4 separate regions of the Homo sapiens genome follow, and all the other regions are linked to region 2. The links are contacts of gene promoters, found by promoter capture Hi-C in blood cells and fetal thymus (Javierre and others, 2016). All regions are on one chromosome and are shown on one strand. The core of a region is centred on a gene start or on the middle of the fragment in contact, and the rest is flanking DNA. Distances in the headings are between cores, read along the strand shown. Region 1 overlaps GAD1 (glutamate decarboxylase 1). Region 2 holds the start of SP9 (Sp9 transcription factor). Region 3 holds the start of LINC01124 (long intergenic non-protein coding RNA 1124). Region 4 has its middle 14 kb from the start of GAD1.

The links. Contacts are between HindIII fragments. The CHiCAGO score rates a contact against its expected background, and 5 or more counts as called.
Region 1: a fragment that was not itself captured here is called in contact with the fragment with the promoter of SP9 in region 2 in 2 of 17 cell types (total B cells and naive B cells); the score reaches 24.2 in total B cells.
Region 3: a contact is called between the fragment with the promoter of LINC01124 here and the fragment with the promoter of SP9 in region 2, in 1 of 17 cell types (total B cells). The highest score is 6.2, in total B cells.
Region 4: a fragment that was not itself captured here is called in contact with the fragment with the promoter of SP9 in region 2 in 1 of 17 cell types (naive B cells); the score reaches 5.7 in naive B cells.

Annotation. Positions count from the first base shown.
Region 1 is chr2:170,821,777-170,824,738 of GRCh38, forward strand. It overlaps GAD1 (glutamate decarboxylase 1), which reads left to right. Exons shown (of 17, transcript NM_000817.3): 3 at 311-373. Among named protein-coding and RNA genes, the nearest start is that of GAD1-AS1, 4.6 kb to the left of the region's middle. RefSeq lists an enhancer at 1,065-1,864. The HindIII fragment of the contact is 7,722 bases long and covers 1-2,962 here.
Region 2 is chr2:174,333,340-174,336,457 of GRCh38, forward strand. It overlaps SP9 (Sp9 transcription factor), which reads left to right and starts at 1,615. Exons shown (of 2, transcript NM_001145250.2): 1 at 1,615-1,774; 2 at 2,768-3,118. The coding sequence starts at 1,754. It overlaps LOC102724194 (a long non-coding RNA gene), which reads right to left and starts at 1,637. Exons shown (of 3, transcript XR_427194.5): 1 at 401-1,637; 2 at 218-286. The HindIII fragment of the contact is 13,141 bases long and covers 1-3,118 here.
Region 3 is chr2:170,713,179-170,716,292 of GRCh38, forward strand. LINC01124 (long intergenic non-protein coding RNA 1124) reads right to left here and starts at 1,389. Exons shown (of 1, transcript NR_027433.1): 1 at 1-1,389. SP5 (Sp5 transcription factor) reads left to right here and starts at 2,159. Exons shown (of 2, transcript NM_001003845.3): 1 at 2,159-2,385; 2 at 3,081-3,114. The coding sequence starts at 2,335. The region is part of intron 5 of ERICH2-DT (ERICH2 divergent transcript); the gene reads right to left. RefSeq lists a silencer at 1,476-1,525 and enhancers at 1,743-2,532, 2,533-3,114. The HindIII fragment of the contact is 7,273 bases long and covers 1-3,114 here.
Region 4 is chr2:170,801,631-170,804,553 of GRCh38, forward strand. No RefSeq gene overlaps it. Among named protein-coding and RNA genes, the nearest start is that of GAD1, 14 kb to the right of the region's middle. The HindIII fragment of the contact is 842 bases long and covers 1,238-2,079 here.

The DNA.
Region 1 (2,962 bases), core at 207-2,706, 3.5 Mb before region 2:
CCAACTCCGACCCCACCTCCGGAGCTGCCGGGCGGGGGTCGCTTACGGGCCCGGAGGGGCGCCGGGTGCCCCGCCTCTCAGAGACACCGTTCCATATTTGAAGCCAGGAGCAGGAAGGGAGTATGATGGGGGCTTAGAGTATATGCCTGTCGGCTCACAGATTTGGCTCCTAGCTCCTTTCAGGAAGTAGCTTTTAATGAAGAGCTCTGGCAAAGTCCTCATCCTCCCCCAAGAAAACCATTGTCCTCCACCCATTTCCCCGCGGTCGGAACCTCCCTAACCGAACCTCTCTCCCTCTCTCTCGTCCTAGCGTACGATACCTGGTGCGGCGTGGCCCATGGATGCACCAGAAAACTGGGGCTCAAGATCTGCGGTAAGTGACAGGACCCACTGGGGCCCGGCTGGGTGGCGCGGCGGGCGGACCTTTGGGGCTTGGGAGACTGGGACGCAAGCGGAGGGGGATCCGGGCTCATGGGTCTGATTTTCTAATGTAATTACAGCCAGGACAGCCAGCGACCACGCTCCCCTACAGGCCCTGACCCTCCTCTGCCCGCCCCAGACCTGGTCCCCAGGGGTCTTTTCCTCTGGAGTCCCCAATCCCCAACACCCAGTGGAGCGAACGCCGGGTGCCCTGCCTGGGCGCAGAAGCGGGAGGAAAGCGCCCCCGCGCGGCAACCCCGCCTTCCTAGCCCTGCGCGCAAGCAGCTCCCACCCGGTGCCGTGCACTCTGCCTGCGCGTCCCAAAGGTCGCGTAGAAAAGGTGAACTGATCTGGCTTGCTGGAGAGCAGACCAAAGGCGGTGTATCTGCCTAAAGCTGTAGCTGACACGTCTCCCCCATCCCCTACATCATCGCCTACCCCTCACTCGCACCTCCACCCGCGCAGTCGGGTCGCATTGAAAGTGGTCTCTCCACCTTGAGGGGTTTTGCCCTGAGATGTCATAACGGATTCAAGTTTCTTTCTTTGGGGCTTCGGAGGCTAAAGAAAAGGATTGCCTGGAGCCCTCCATGGCCTGCCTGAGGGAGGCACGAGGGTTTGCCTGGCGCATCCTTGAAGGCGAGGAGGGAAGGGAAAGGGGACGAGCAGGGACGAGGAGCCGCAGGCGGCGAAAGAACCGGGAAGGAAGAAAATAGATCAGGGAGCTGGAGAGGAGAAAGAACTGCTCTCTGGAGACAGGAGGGTCTGAAATGAAAACGCCCAAAGGATGTAATTTTTTTAAAGGAAAAAGGGAGATTTGTTCGAAGGGACACAGCTGAGTGATTCTGGCTGAACAATGAGGCCTCACTTTCCTGGCTACATTTCACCGACTAAAATTCTCTAGCCTTATCGGGCCAGAAAATACGGATGTCCCCGGGCAGAGGTTGGAGAGGCGGGGGAAGATTAACGGGCGGCTTATTAAAGAGCCATCCGTCAGCTCCTGCGCGCGGGAGATAGCGGCAGAGCAGGCACGGGACACGCCCGCCCGCCCTAGCCCCGGAGCGCCGAGAGCCGCCCGCCGCCTGGGTGCTCTCTGCACCTGATCTTCCCAGCCTCCCTGGGTCCCGGGGCGAGGGCGGTGGCAGTTTGCAGTCAGAGCAGAGTGGCCGCTTTGGGGAACTACTCCCTTCCCTGCTTGGCCGCGCCGCGCCCTCCCTGCATTTCTGGGGCTCTGTCCTCTAGACCCTGGGACTCGGCGTTTAGGGAGGAACAGGCGCTCCATTCCTAGACCCAGCCATTTTCCACCGAAAGCCCAGCCCTGCCGCCGGGCGGCCTGGGAGTTTGGCCTTCTCCCCAGCGCAGGACGCCCGTGGGGCAAGGCCAGGGCTGCATCCCTGTGCTGGGGCAGCCGGCGGCCGCGGATCTTTGTTCTATAAATAGCCCCGTCCCACTCCCACCCCCACCTCCACCCCCACCCTGCCGCCATTCTGGGCTTAATGGCCCGTTTCGCGCCAGGTCCCTTCGGCGGCCGCAGCGCTCGGCTTCTGCAGCCGTCATTGTCATGCAGCCAGCCGGGCAGGCAGAACTGAGCGAGCCCTGGGCAGCCGAGGACAGGGTAGGGGCAGGCTCTGGGCGACGGCTCCTTACCAGCGGCGCCTGGCCTGCTGAGGGTGGGGGGCAGCCCTCATTCACCCCCATCCTGCCCCCTGCTGTCCCCTGCTCCTCTGGCTGCAGGCGCTCCACTTCCGCGGGAATAAAAGGTCTAAGTGCTTCTTATGGGGACATACCCGACGAGTTCAGAAAGGCTAAAGAGGCGGGAAAGAGTGGGGCTTCGCTGGGTCCGGAAATAGGGAAGCCGGAGTTGGCCTCCACTCCCCCTCCCCCACTGTCAGCCGAAGCTAGGAGGGAGAGCTCCTGGGGGCTACAGTCCTCAGAGAGTTTCCTCCCTGTGTCTGCTCCCCACAACCCATGGTAGTCTGTTGAGGAGAAATTGCCTTGGGCTAAAATGCCCCGCTTTTGGGGCCACAGGTTAGGAGGCTTCCCATTAGGTTTGATTGTGAAAGAAAACAAAACACCAAGATTTATTTTCCACACCTTGAGACAACTTTGGCTTTCCATTTTAATCTAGTGGAGGCAGAGTGCAGTCTTTTGTGTTGGCCCTGGGTCCACAGCTCCCTGCCTGCCTACACACACACACACACACACACACACACACACACACACACACCCCTCCCTTCATCCCTGGAGGGATGGACCTGGAGGGTCCCTTCTTGACTTGACACCATCCAGGTTGGTTTACCCTTTCACATTAAGAGAGCAGAGGAACTCATGGTCCTCTTCCCACTTCCAAACCCACTGCCCTGGATGACTCTCAGAAGCACCCTCAGTGCCTTGCCAAAATTCAACCCCCACCCACTCTCCCCCTGCCCTTCCCCAAAATCCACAGAATGAAGCTGCAAGGAAGGCCCTGGGCCCCACTAGTGGTAGCCCTGAAGGCAGAATTAGCTCTGGAGGCAGAATCCCCCAGGGAGAGTAATCAGCTAGA
Region 2 (3,118 bases), core at 365-2,864:
TGGGGTTGGTAGTTTAATTTTTTTTTTTTCCTAAGAAGCAGGGTGTGGGTTTAGTGGGGAGTGTGCTATATTAAAACCAGTGCCCAGGTCTGCCCGAGGGCGCTGGTATTTCTGGTTCAAAAACAGCTTCTGGCTACCCTGGAGAAGAAAGAGAAAGCGGGGCCCAGAAAGAGAAAAACAAGCAGGTCAGCGGTTGCTGGGGGACTCGAAGACGCACCCTGGTCTGCTTGAGGACGCCTCTTTTCACACTGACAAGGTCCAGGGAGGACTTCAGGATGCTTCCAGCCTGCAAAATGTGGAAGCGCCCACGTGTGGCCTGGTCCTCCGCCCTCCCGGGTGAAAGTCCTGGAGAGATTTCTCGGGCGCGTCCGTGAAAGCAGGGCACTAATGGGGAGCCTACCTCTTAAAACAGCGCACTTGCCCTACGGACGAGCCTCTAGGCCCTGGTGGTCTGGAATGGGAGTGGGTTGGAGCTGGGACAAGAAAACTCCACTCCAGGATGAAACGCGACATGCAAATCTTCACCGGGTTAAACAAACAGCCGAGCAAGCTGCAGCTTCAGCGGAGGTGGAGGTGGGGGCGGACGCCGCTCGCGCCGGTCTCTGTTTCCAAAGTTGTTACAGTGAGAAAATAAGCGGCTTCGTGCAGCGTGTTGTATGGGCTGATGCCTCCCACCCCCATGCCAGCCCACAGCAAAACCCGGCAGATAATCAGCACATCCCACTGTTTAGTCATATTTGACAACTGGGTTAACCTGGTATCTAAGCGCTGGCGAAACCGTACAAAGGGTGCCCTCAATTACCACCAGAAGCCTCTAGCGTGAGTGGCACTTGTATTACCCCCCGGGTCAGAGGCCAGAGCGACAATTAGGAAGTCACTTACACCGCTGGGGGGAAATGGCGGGATGCAGCAGGCTCCAGGCCCTCCCAACAAATCTGTGGATGTAGATCTGTACAGAGAGGCCTATTTCGCTCCTCTCGGAGGAGCTGTCCCTTCGCGCCCCCTCCCCAGTATAACTGTGAGAGTGAAATTGAATCTAGTGGAATAAGGAATTGGGTAGAAGACACACGAAAATGATAAAAATCACAAGCAAGAATGATAGATACAAGCTGAAGTTGTGTTCTGTAGGCAAAAGCCTGGACACACAAAGTGAGGGCTCACATTTCCGTCTCCACTTGGGCCCTGCTGGTGCGGGCTGTGTCTGGGTGTCTCCTCCCCTCCTGCCTCCTTTCCTACAAGTGGGGAGTCGAGTAGGACTGTCAGCCCTAACTTGCAACATCTCGGGGTGGTTTGTGTGTGGGGGGGTGCTTGTGGCTCGGTTTCATTGGTACTTAAACCTGGCTTGGTGCGTGAGTGTAAATTTTTAATTGCACTGTAATTTCTTCAGTCCCCAGCCCGCCCTCGCCCCCCCCCCGCAAGTATCCCCCACTACTCCCCCCCACCCCCGCGGCCCTAGCTAGCTGACTTGACTGGCACGCGCCGGGAGCCCGGGCTCGGGCCCCTCGGAGCGTCTGATTGGCTGCGGGGCAGCTCCGGTCTGCTCTGCCTGCGCCCTCATTGGGCGAGAGGCGCAGCCAGCGGCACTTCAAAGCGGGTGCTCCTCGCACTTAGGCTGAGTTTAGCCGGCGGGAGCCTGGAGTCCGCTCGGCACGAGCGCGGGGACGCGGGAGCCGCGCGGGACCCAAGCAGTTTTTCCGAGCAGCCGCCAGGCTCAGCCCCGCTCCCAGCCTCGCTGCGCAGCCAGAGACCTGCTATGGCCACGTCTATACTCGGGGTAAGTCGCAAGCGCGGCAACGCATTTGCTTGTTTTAACCGGAGTAATTTTTCGTTATGGCTTCTGGGGTCTGCGGCTCCGGAGAAACTGTTGCTGCTAGACTGCAGCTTCAGCTTCTATTAGCACTTTCCACATTTCTGGGACTGATTTTTCCCCAAGTTTTTGGAACCCAGAAAGATGCCTTTGCAAGAAAAGGCCTTCTTAATCAAGTCCTTTTTCATTTGGTTTCAAAAAAAAGCTAGAGGTTTCTTTTCTTCCCCTCGTGATTTATACCCCATCCCCCGCATTGCTTTGGGGATTTTGTTGCAATTATGCGACAATGGTGTTTCCAGAAAACAGTCTTAATCGTTTTGCAGTCCATCTAGTCACGCTAATAAACATTTACATTTCCGCGGCTCCCCAATTCGCCCATGACTTTGAAATCTGTCTCTGGCCGCTTATCCTCGGATTATTGTTTTCATAATCGCTGTTTTTGTGTGTATGTAAACTTTAAAACCAAACGTTTTCTATTAAAAAAGAAAAGTCAAGTCGTAGCCACCCTGGGAGAGCTGCAAGTTTCGCCCGTCCCTGGCAGCTGTTTCGGCCGCCTCCGCCCTCACCCGGTGTTTGTTGTCTCTGGTCTCTGTGTTTACCTTCGCGCTTCACCCCGAAGGGCGACTTGGGGTCTTCTGGGAGATGAGCCGGTTTACGGCGACAACCCAAGTCCGGTTGTAGGCAGGGTTGCAGCGGGGAACACGGAGGCATCTTTGATTTATAGCCTCAGCGAAGTGCAACTTTCCGGCGCCTGGACCTTCGCCCGGGTGATCGCCCCTGCTCCGCGCCCGGTGCGGCGACTCCTCCGCGGGCGCGTGGGGAGGAGGCGCGAGGCGGGGAGCCAGGACCCCCCGGGAGCAGCCGCAGGGGACGAGGCTGCTCACGGGTGCACTTTGTTTCTTCCCCCACTTCCTCTTGCCCTCCTCCTTCTTGCTCCCTCCCCCATCCCACCCACTCTAGGAAGAGCCGCGCTTCGGAACGACCCCGTTGGCCATGCTGGCGGCGACCTGCAACAAGATCGGCAACACGAGCCCGCTGACGACGCTGCCAGAGTCGAGCGCCTTCGCCAAAGGCGGCTTTCACCCCTGGAAGCGCTCCTCGTCCAGCTGCAACCTCGGCTCCAGCCTCTCGGGCTTCGCGGTGGCCACCGGGGGCCGTGGCTCGGGCGGCCTGGCGGGCGGCTCGGGCGCCGCCAACAGCGCCTTCTGCCTGGCCTCCACGTCGCCCACGTCGTCCGCCTTCAGCAGCGACTACGGCGGCCTCTTCTCCAACTCGGCGGCTGCCGCGGCGGCAGCGGCCGGGGTGTCCCCG
Region 3 (3,114 bases), core at 139-2,638, 3.6 Mb before region 2:
TGCCAAGGGGCTCCCTGGCCTCCGACTTGCATCCAGGGAAGAGCTCCCTCGAGTCTCACGCTTCTCCAAGACTCAAATCCTGGACGGGAGCGTGGGAAGGAGCAGGTTGGCCAGGCCTCGGATGAAACCACTAAGCTCTCTCCCCTTCTCCGCTCCCAGAGCAGCCGACCTCATCTTCAGAAGCCAGATCGGGTCGGCCAAGTTGTGTGGTCGCCGCTCGCGTTTTAGAGGGGACAACTCGTTGGGGGAGAAGGGGGCGTGCGAGTGCAGGATGTGCGAGGGACCCATTGTATTTGGGTCGCAAGCAGCCCACCCGTCTTGAGTACGATATTCTCATTCCGCAGGCGCGCCCTGGGCGTGGGAGAAGGTGGGCCCGGAGGCATCGCATCCCCGACCCCTGATGGAAGTGCGGAGGGCATCCTTATACAGTCCAGATTCCGAGTCCGTTGTAGTTAGGCTAACCTCTGACGCTGCATCGGGAGATAGGTCACCCCGTCCGTCCCGGTCGCAGTGCGGTTCCCGTGAGGAAGACGGGCAGAGAGGCCGGGCGCGAACTGATTAGGGGCTCCCCCACGGCCGGCGGCCTGGAGAGTGGAGACTGTGTCCGACGGGAGGTGGGTGGGGGAGAGGAGTAGGCCGAGCTCCGGCGGCCACTCCGCAGTGCGCTCTCGCGAGCCGGGGCCGCGAGGCCTCCAACGCGGTTCCGCACCCCTAATGCCCCAGGGCGGTGAGCACCCCGCGGTTCCCCGCCCGCCTCTTCCTCCTTCCCCGCCCGCGCGCCCGGGAGAGGCGATCCCCGCGTCCGCAGTGCCGGGGCAGGACGCGCCCTGCGCCCTGGGCCAGGAGGAGGCAGGTGGCCCTCCTCGGCAGGAGGTGAGCCGCCAGGGAGGGATGGGGGTCACCCAAGCCCCTGCAAGCGCGACCCTGCCCAGAGCAAAGCACGCCCCGCGCCTGGTGAGGAACTTTTTCTTTCCAAAGGTGGCAGGAACAAGTCTGTACTGACTTTTCTCCCGCCTTCGGGATCCTCTCTCGTATGATTTGTGGTTTGTGGGACCACAACAACCAGGCTTCCTCGACCGCGCCTTTTTTCCAGTAGCTCCTGGTCTGCCAGGCTTGCGAGAGGGCGCGCTGGCTTGGCGGGGCTCCGGGCGAGAAATCACCAGCAGCGCTGGGGCTTTCGGCCCCCCACAGCCCAGCCCGGGCCTCCTGGGTGGCCTGGGGAGAAGGGGGCGGGACAGCACAGCTTCTTCCCCTCGGGTGGGCATGACGGGTCGCCTTGGGTGTCCTGCCGAGCTCAGCTTTGAGGGTATGCGCGGCGCGGGTGTTTTTCCCAGGTCCACTCTGCAAAAGTTGTGGCCTGAGGAAAACTTCCAGGTCGCCAGCAGGAACGTCACAGGAGAGCCCCGGTCGCTCGTCAGGCGGGCGGCCCTGGAGCGTGCGCGCCACCCAACGCCGCGCTGGGCGGCCGCCCGGCCCCGCCCCAGGTCACAGCCCTGCCCTCGGCCCCACCGCGGCGGGCGGGGGACACGCGGCGGGCCGGGCGCTGTCGGTCCCACGCCCCACCGGGGATCTCGCTTGGGTCCGCTGTGTGCGCGGGCGGGTGCGTGTGCGGCGAGGGTGCAGGGTGTGCAAGTAAATACAGGGGAGAGTTACACTCTTTGCCGTCTCAAAGTCCGGCGCCTGGAAGCCGAAGGCAGATTTTTCCAGAGATAACAAAGACACTTTGTCACTTTGGGCGCTGCGTCGGTGCAAATCTTTAATTGCAAGTGTGTGTGTGTGTGTGTGTGTGTATGTTGGGGGGGGCGGGAAGAGTGTCTCGAGCAACCCAAGCGCGGGTCTCCAGGCGGCAAGGCCCCCTTTGATCAGGAAAATCCAATTATTTGTGTATATACATTTCCCACATAGTGATTACTTCATTAATTGTCCCGCCTTTATCTCCTCCCTTCCCATCCCCCCTAATAATCAGTTCTTTTATCCAGACCAACAAACACACCATAGGAGCTTTGTGGATTCAAAGGATTTGCTTTCGCTTCTGAAAGAGCCGCTATTCTTTGATGATTGGGTAGCGGCAAACTTCAAAGCCATAAATCTTCCCTCTGACTGGCTGGCGGCCCAGCAAAGTCCTTATCAAATTCTTGGAGGTGATCCTGAAGCGCTCAGACCGCGCGCGGGGCGAGCGAGCGGGGCGCGGCGAGGGGCAAGGGCGGGGAGGGCCCCGGCGCTCAGAGCAGGCGCCAGGGAGGCAGGCTGGGCGGCCCTTCGTCCTCGCCTTCGGGTGTCCATGCCTCGGCGGCGGCGTCCCGCTCCGCAGCCAGGGGCCTGCAAGCCGTAGCCATGGCCGCGGTGGCCGTCCTCCGGAACGACTCGCTGCAGGCCTTTCTCCAGGTCAGGGCCGAGCCCGGAGGGGGCGGGAGAAAGGTGGAAAGGGCCGTGTCCGGATCTCTCCTGGTACTCCGTGCACCTTGAACCTCAAAGGGAACCCCGCCGATGGGTGCAGCTGGAGCCAGGCCTAGGGGTGCCCACGCCAACTTCACACCTAATCCGGTGTGGCCTTTGCTGGAGGGACGCGTGGATCCGGGATTGTTCGGAGGTGCCCGGCTGGCCGAGAACAGGACCGGAGCTCACCCTGCTGGGCCCTCCTGCTGATTTCAGCCTGGGGCGGGCCAGGGAGGAGCGCGAAGGCAGTGAGGACAAGAGAGCTTAAAAGATGGGAGGGAGAGCGGCCGGCCGGCGGGGTTGTGGGTGTTTCCCGACTCTTACTGACCACGGAGCCGGGAGGGGCCCGTCGGATGCCTCCCCCTCCCACTTCGCGCCTGCTTCCTCTAAGGCTGGATGGCGTCTCAGTGCACCAAGTAGTTTAGCAAGAAGCGCTCGCGGGCCCCACGTTCAGGTAGCGCAGGCACCAAAAGTTTCCCTCGGCCGGTGGGTGCGTGCGTGGGGTGCGGTGGCGGGGGAGGGACGGCCGGGACGGAGGAGGGGCGGCGGTATAATAGCGGGCGTGGGGGCGGCGGGCTGGCCCGGAGTCCGCGCTTGGAGCTAACCTTTTGTCTCTTCTCCGCCCTCCCTCGCCGCCTATGCAGGACCGCACCCCCAGCGCCTCCCCGGACCTGGGCA
Region 4 (2,923 bases), core at 409-2,908, 3.5 Mb before region 2:
TATCTGTGTAGACAGTTCAGTTCCAGACCTGTGCCTTCTTCAATAACTTTACAACACATTGTAATGATGTTAATGAACCCAAATATCCAACAATATGAGAATATGTAAGAATGCCTACTCAATAGACTTCAGAGGGGAACCCACTGAAAAAGTTTCATGTATTCAATAAGGTTTGTTTGTTTGTTTTTGTTTGTTTGTTTTGAGACGGAGTTTCACTCTTGTTGCCCAGGCTGGAGTGCAATGGTGCGATCTTGGCTCACTGCAACCTCCACCTCCCGAGTTCAAATGATTCTCCTGTCTCAGCCTCCCGAGTAGCTGGGACTACAGGTGCCCGCCACCACACCCGGCTAATTTTTGTATTTTTAGTAGAGACAGGGGTTTCGCCATGTTGACCAGGCTGGTCTCGAACTCCTGACTTCAGGTGATTTGCTCGTCTTGGCCTCCCAAAGTGCTGGGATTATAGGCATGAGCCACCACACCCGGCCTCAATAAGTATTTACTGAAGGCCTTCTAGGTATTCTGGAGGGAACAAAACCCAGTCTCTGCTCTTCAACAGCATTGTTGTTAAATACAGGGAGATAAACACTGCCATTGTGTGGGTCCTGGGCACTAAGGGAGAATGTGGGAGGGCAGGAGAGACAGTCTAGGCATCCAGGAAAAGCATTTAGAGAGAAGTGAAGTCTAAGCTAAGAAGGTAGAGGAAGTGGGAATTAGCTGTAAGAAAAGGGTGTCTAGAAGACAGTCTGAGCAGAGTAACACAACTTGCAAAGGCGCAGAGACACAATCTGATATCAGAAAGTTAAGCAGGTAAGGTTGGATTATAAAATGAACCATTTAGAGTGGAGAAAGACGAAGCTACAGTGATAAAAGAACTGGGTGATGGGGGGTCTTAGAAGCCATGTTAGAGTTTGAACTTTATCCTTAGAGTAATGGAGGCATTGAATGCTTTTAAGGAAAATAATTGTATTTTAGAAAGAGCATTCTGGTAGGTAAAAAAGATGTCTTCTTAAACTACACATTACGATCCATTGGTCAGTTATGAAATCATTGCAGTAAATCACAAATACCTGGGGGTTTTACAAAGTTAAATACATAGAATAGAAACTATCAGCATATACTGCAAAAGAGTATGGCAAGCATTGTTTTATGAAACTTTTGTTTCAGGAGTGTGTATTCCCTAGACCTTGAAGTGAAATGTATTTCTTCCTGTGGATCTCGATGAAAAATAAAATTTGAAAGCTTAGAGAACAGACTAGAGTTGAATACAGACTCTAGCAGTTCAAAATTGTAACCTGAAAAGAGACAGTAGCAGGGAGATGTAATGGAATGGAGGGGTTACTCTAGAGGTAGAAAGAATTGGCAGGAATTGGGGATAAAGTAAATGTGGTAAAGAGGTAGAGGTCAAGAATGACTCTTAGTGGGAGGACAAGGTATATGGTGATGCCAGCCCCTAAAGACAGGAACACAGGAAAGCAGCTTTGTTGAAGAAGATGGAGGTTCACTTGCACAAGTTGACTATGGGAAATGTATTAGTTTCCTATTGCTGCTATAAAAAGTTACCACAAACTTCGTGGCTTAAAACAACACAACTTTATGATCTTATAGTTCTGGAGGTTCTAAGTCCAAAATGGGTCTCACTGGGCCAAAAGCAAGGTGTCAGCAAGGCTGCATTCCTTCTGGAGGCTCTAGGAGATAATCCATTTCCTTGCCTTTTCCAGCTTCCAGACCCCACGCATATTCCTTGGCCCCATCTTTCCACCTTCAAAGCCAGGAATGTCTGGCCAAGCCCTTGTCATGCTGCCATCTCTCTATTCTCTCTCCTGACTTTTTCTTCTGCTTTTAAAGATGCTTGTGATTACCTTGGGTCCATCTGGATAATCCAAGATAGTCTCCCTATCTTAAAGTCAGCTAATCAGCAAGGTTAACTCCGTCAGCAATCTCAATGCCCCATTGCTATGTAATCTAACATATTTGCAGTTTCTGGGTATTAAGATGTAGACATCTTGGGAGAAGAGGGGTGCATTATTCTGCCTAACTCAGGAAGTATTGGGTAAGTGTTAACTAGTTTTCATGGTATGAAGCTTAAAAAAGACACTTGGGCGGGAAATATACCTTTATTAGTAGTCATCACTTAGAGATAGTAGTCAAATAAACAGAATGAAGGACCCATGGAGAGAGTGTAGTCCAAATAGGAGAGGACCAGGGATAGAATTATAATGATCACCAACATTTAAGTGGTAGTCCATGAAAGAGAAGTGCACATAATAGACTGAGAAGGAACAACCAAGAGGAAAATTGGGAAAGCAAATATAGTGGGCACTGTTGGTTTCCTACTCAGCAACTATCCTTTTCCCTTTCTTTGCAAAGAGCAAAGACAGTCCCGACTCTGTTCAGATATTCGCTCCCCACATCCATAGCCACGAGACTCAGCCAACCAGTCCCTGGCATTTCTCTGGTGACTGTTATTGTTCCAGAGATGGACATGTGACCTACTTCTTCTAAAAAGATCGAGGACTTTATTTCATGATTGGGAGGAGATGTTCCTCCATTCTTCTGGTTAAGAACCAGGAAGCATGCTGCCCTAGTTTCTGCTGGCAGTCATCTCATGATCACGAGAGAAGCTAATCTTAGGAAGAAGCTGATGCTGTGGATGGAAGAACAAAAAGAACCTAGGTCCCTGCTAATGCTCAGCCGCTGAGTCGACGGGCCTGGGAGCCACCACTCTGAGTTTATGTTATGAGATAAACTTTCTTATTGTTCAAGCCAGTTGGATCAAGGTTTCTTTTACCTGCTGCCAAAAGCCTCCTAACTGATATTGAGCAGCACCACAGAAACCCAGAAAAAGAGTTTCAAGGAGCCTGTAAAAACCTGCTTTGCAAAAAGTTGCAGAGAAGACAAGTAAGATAAGAACTAAAAGGGTAAT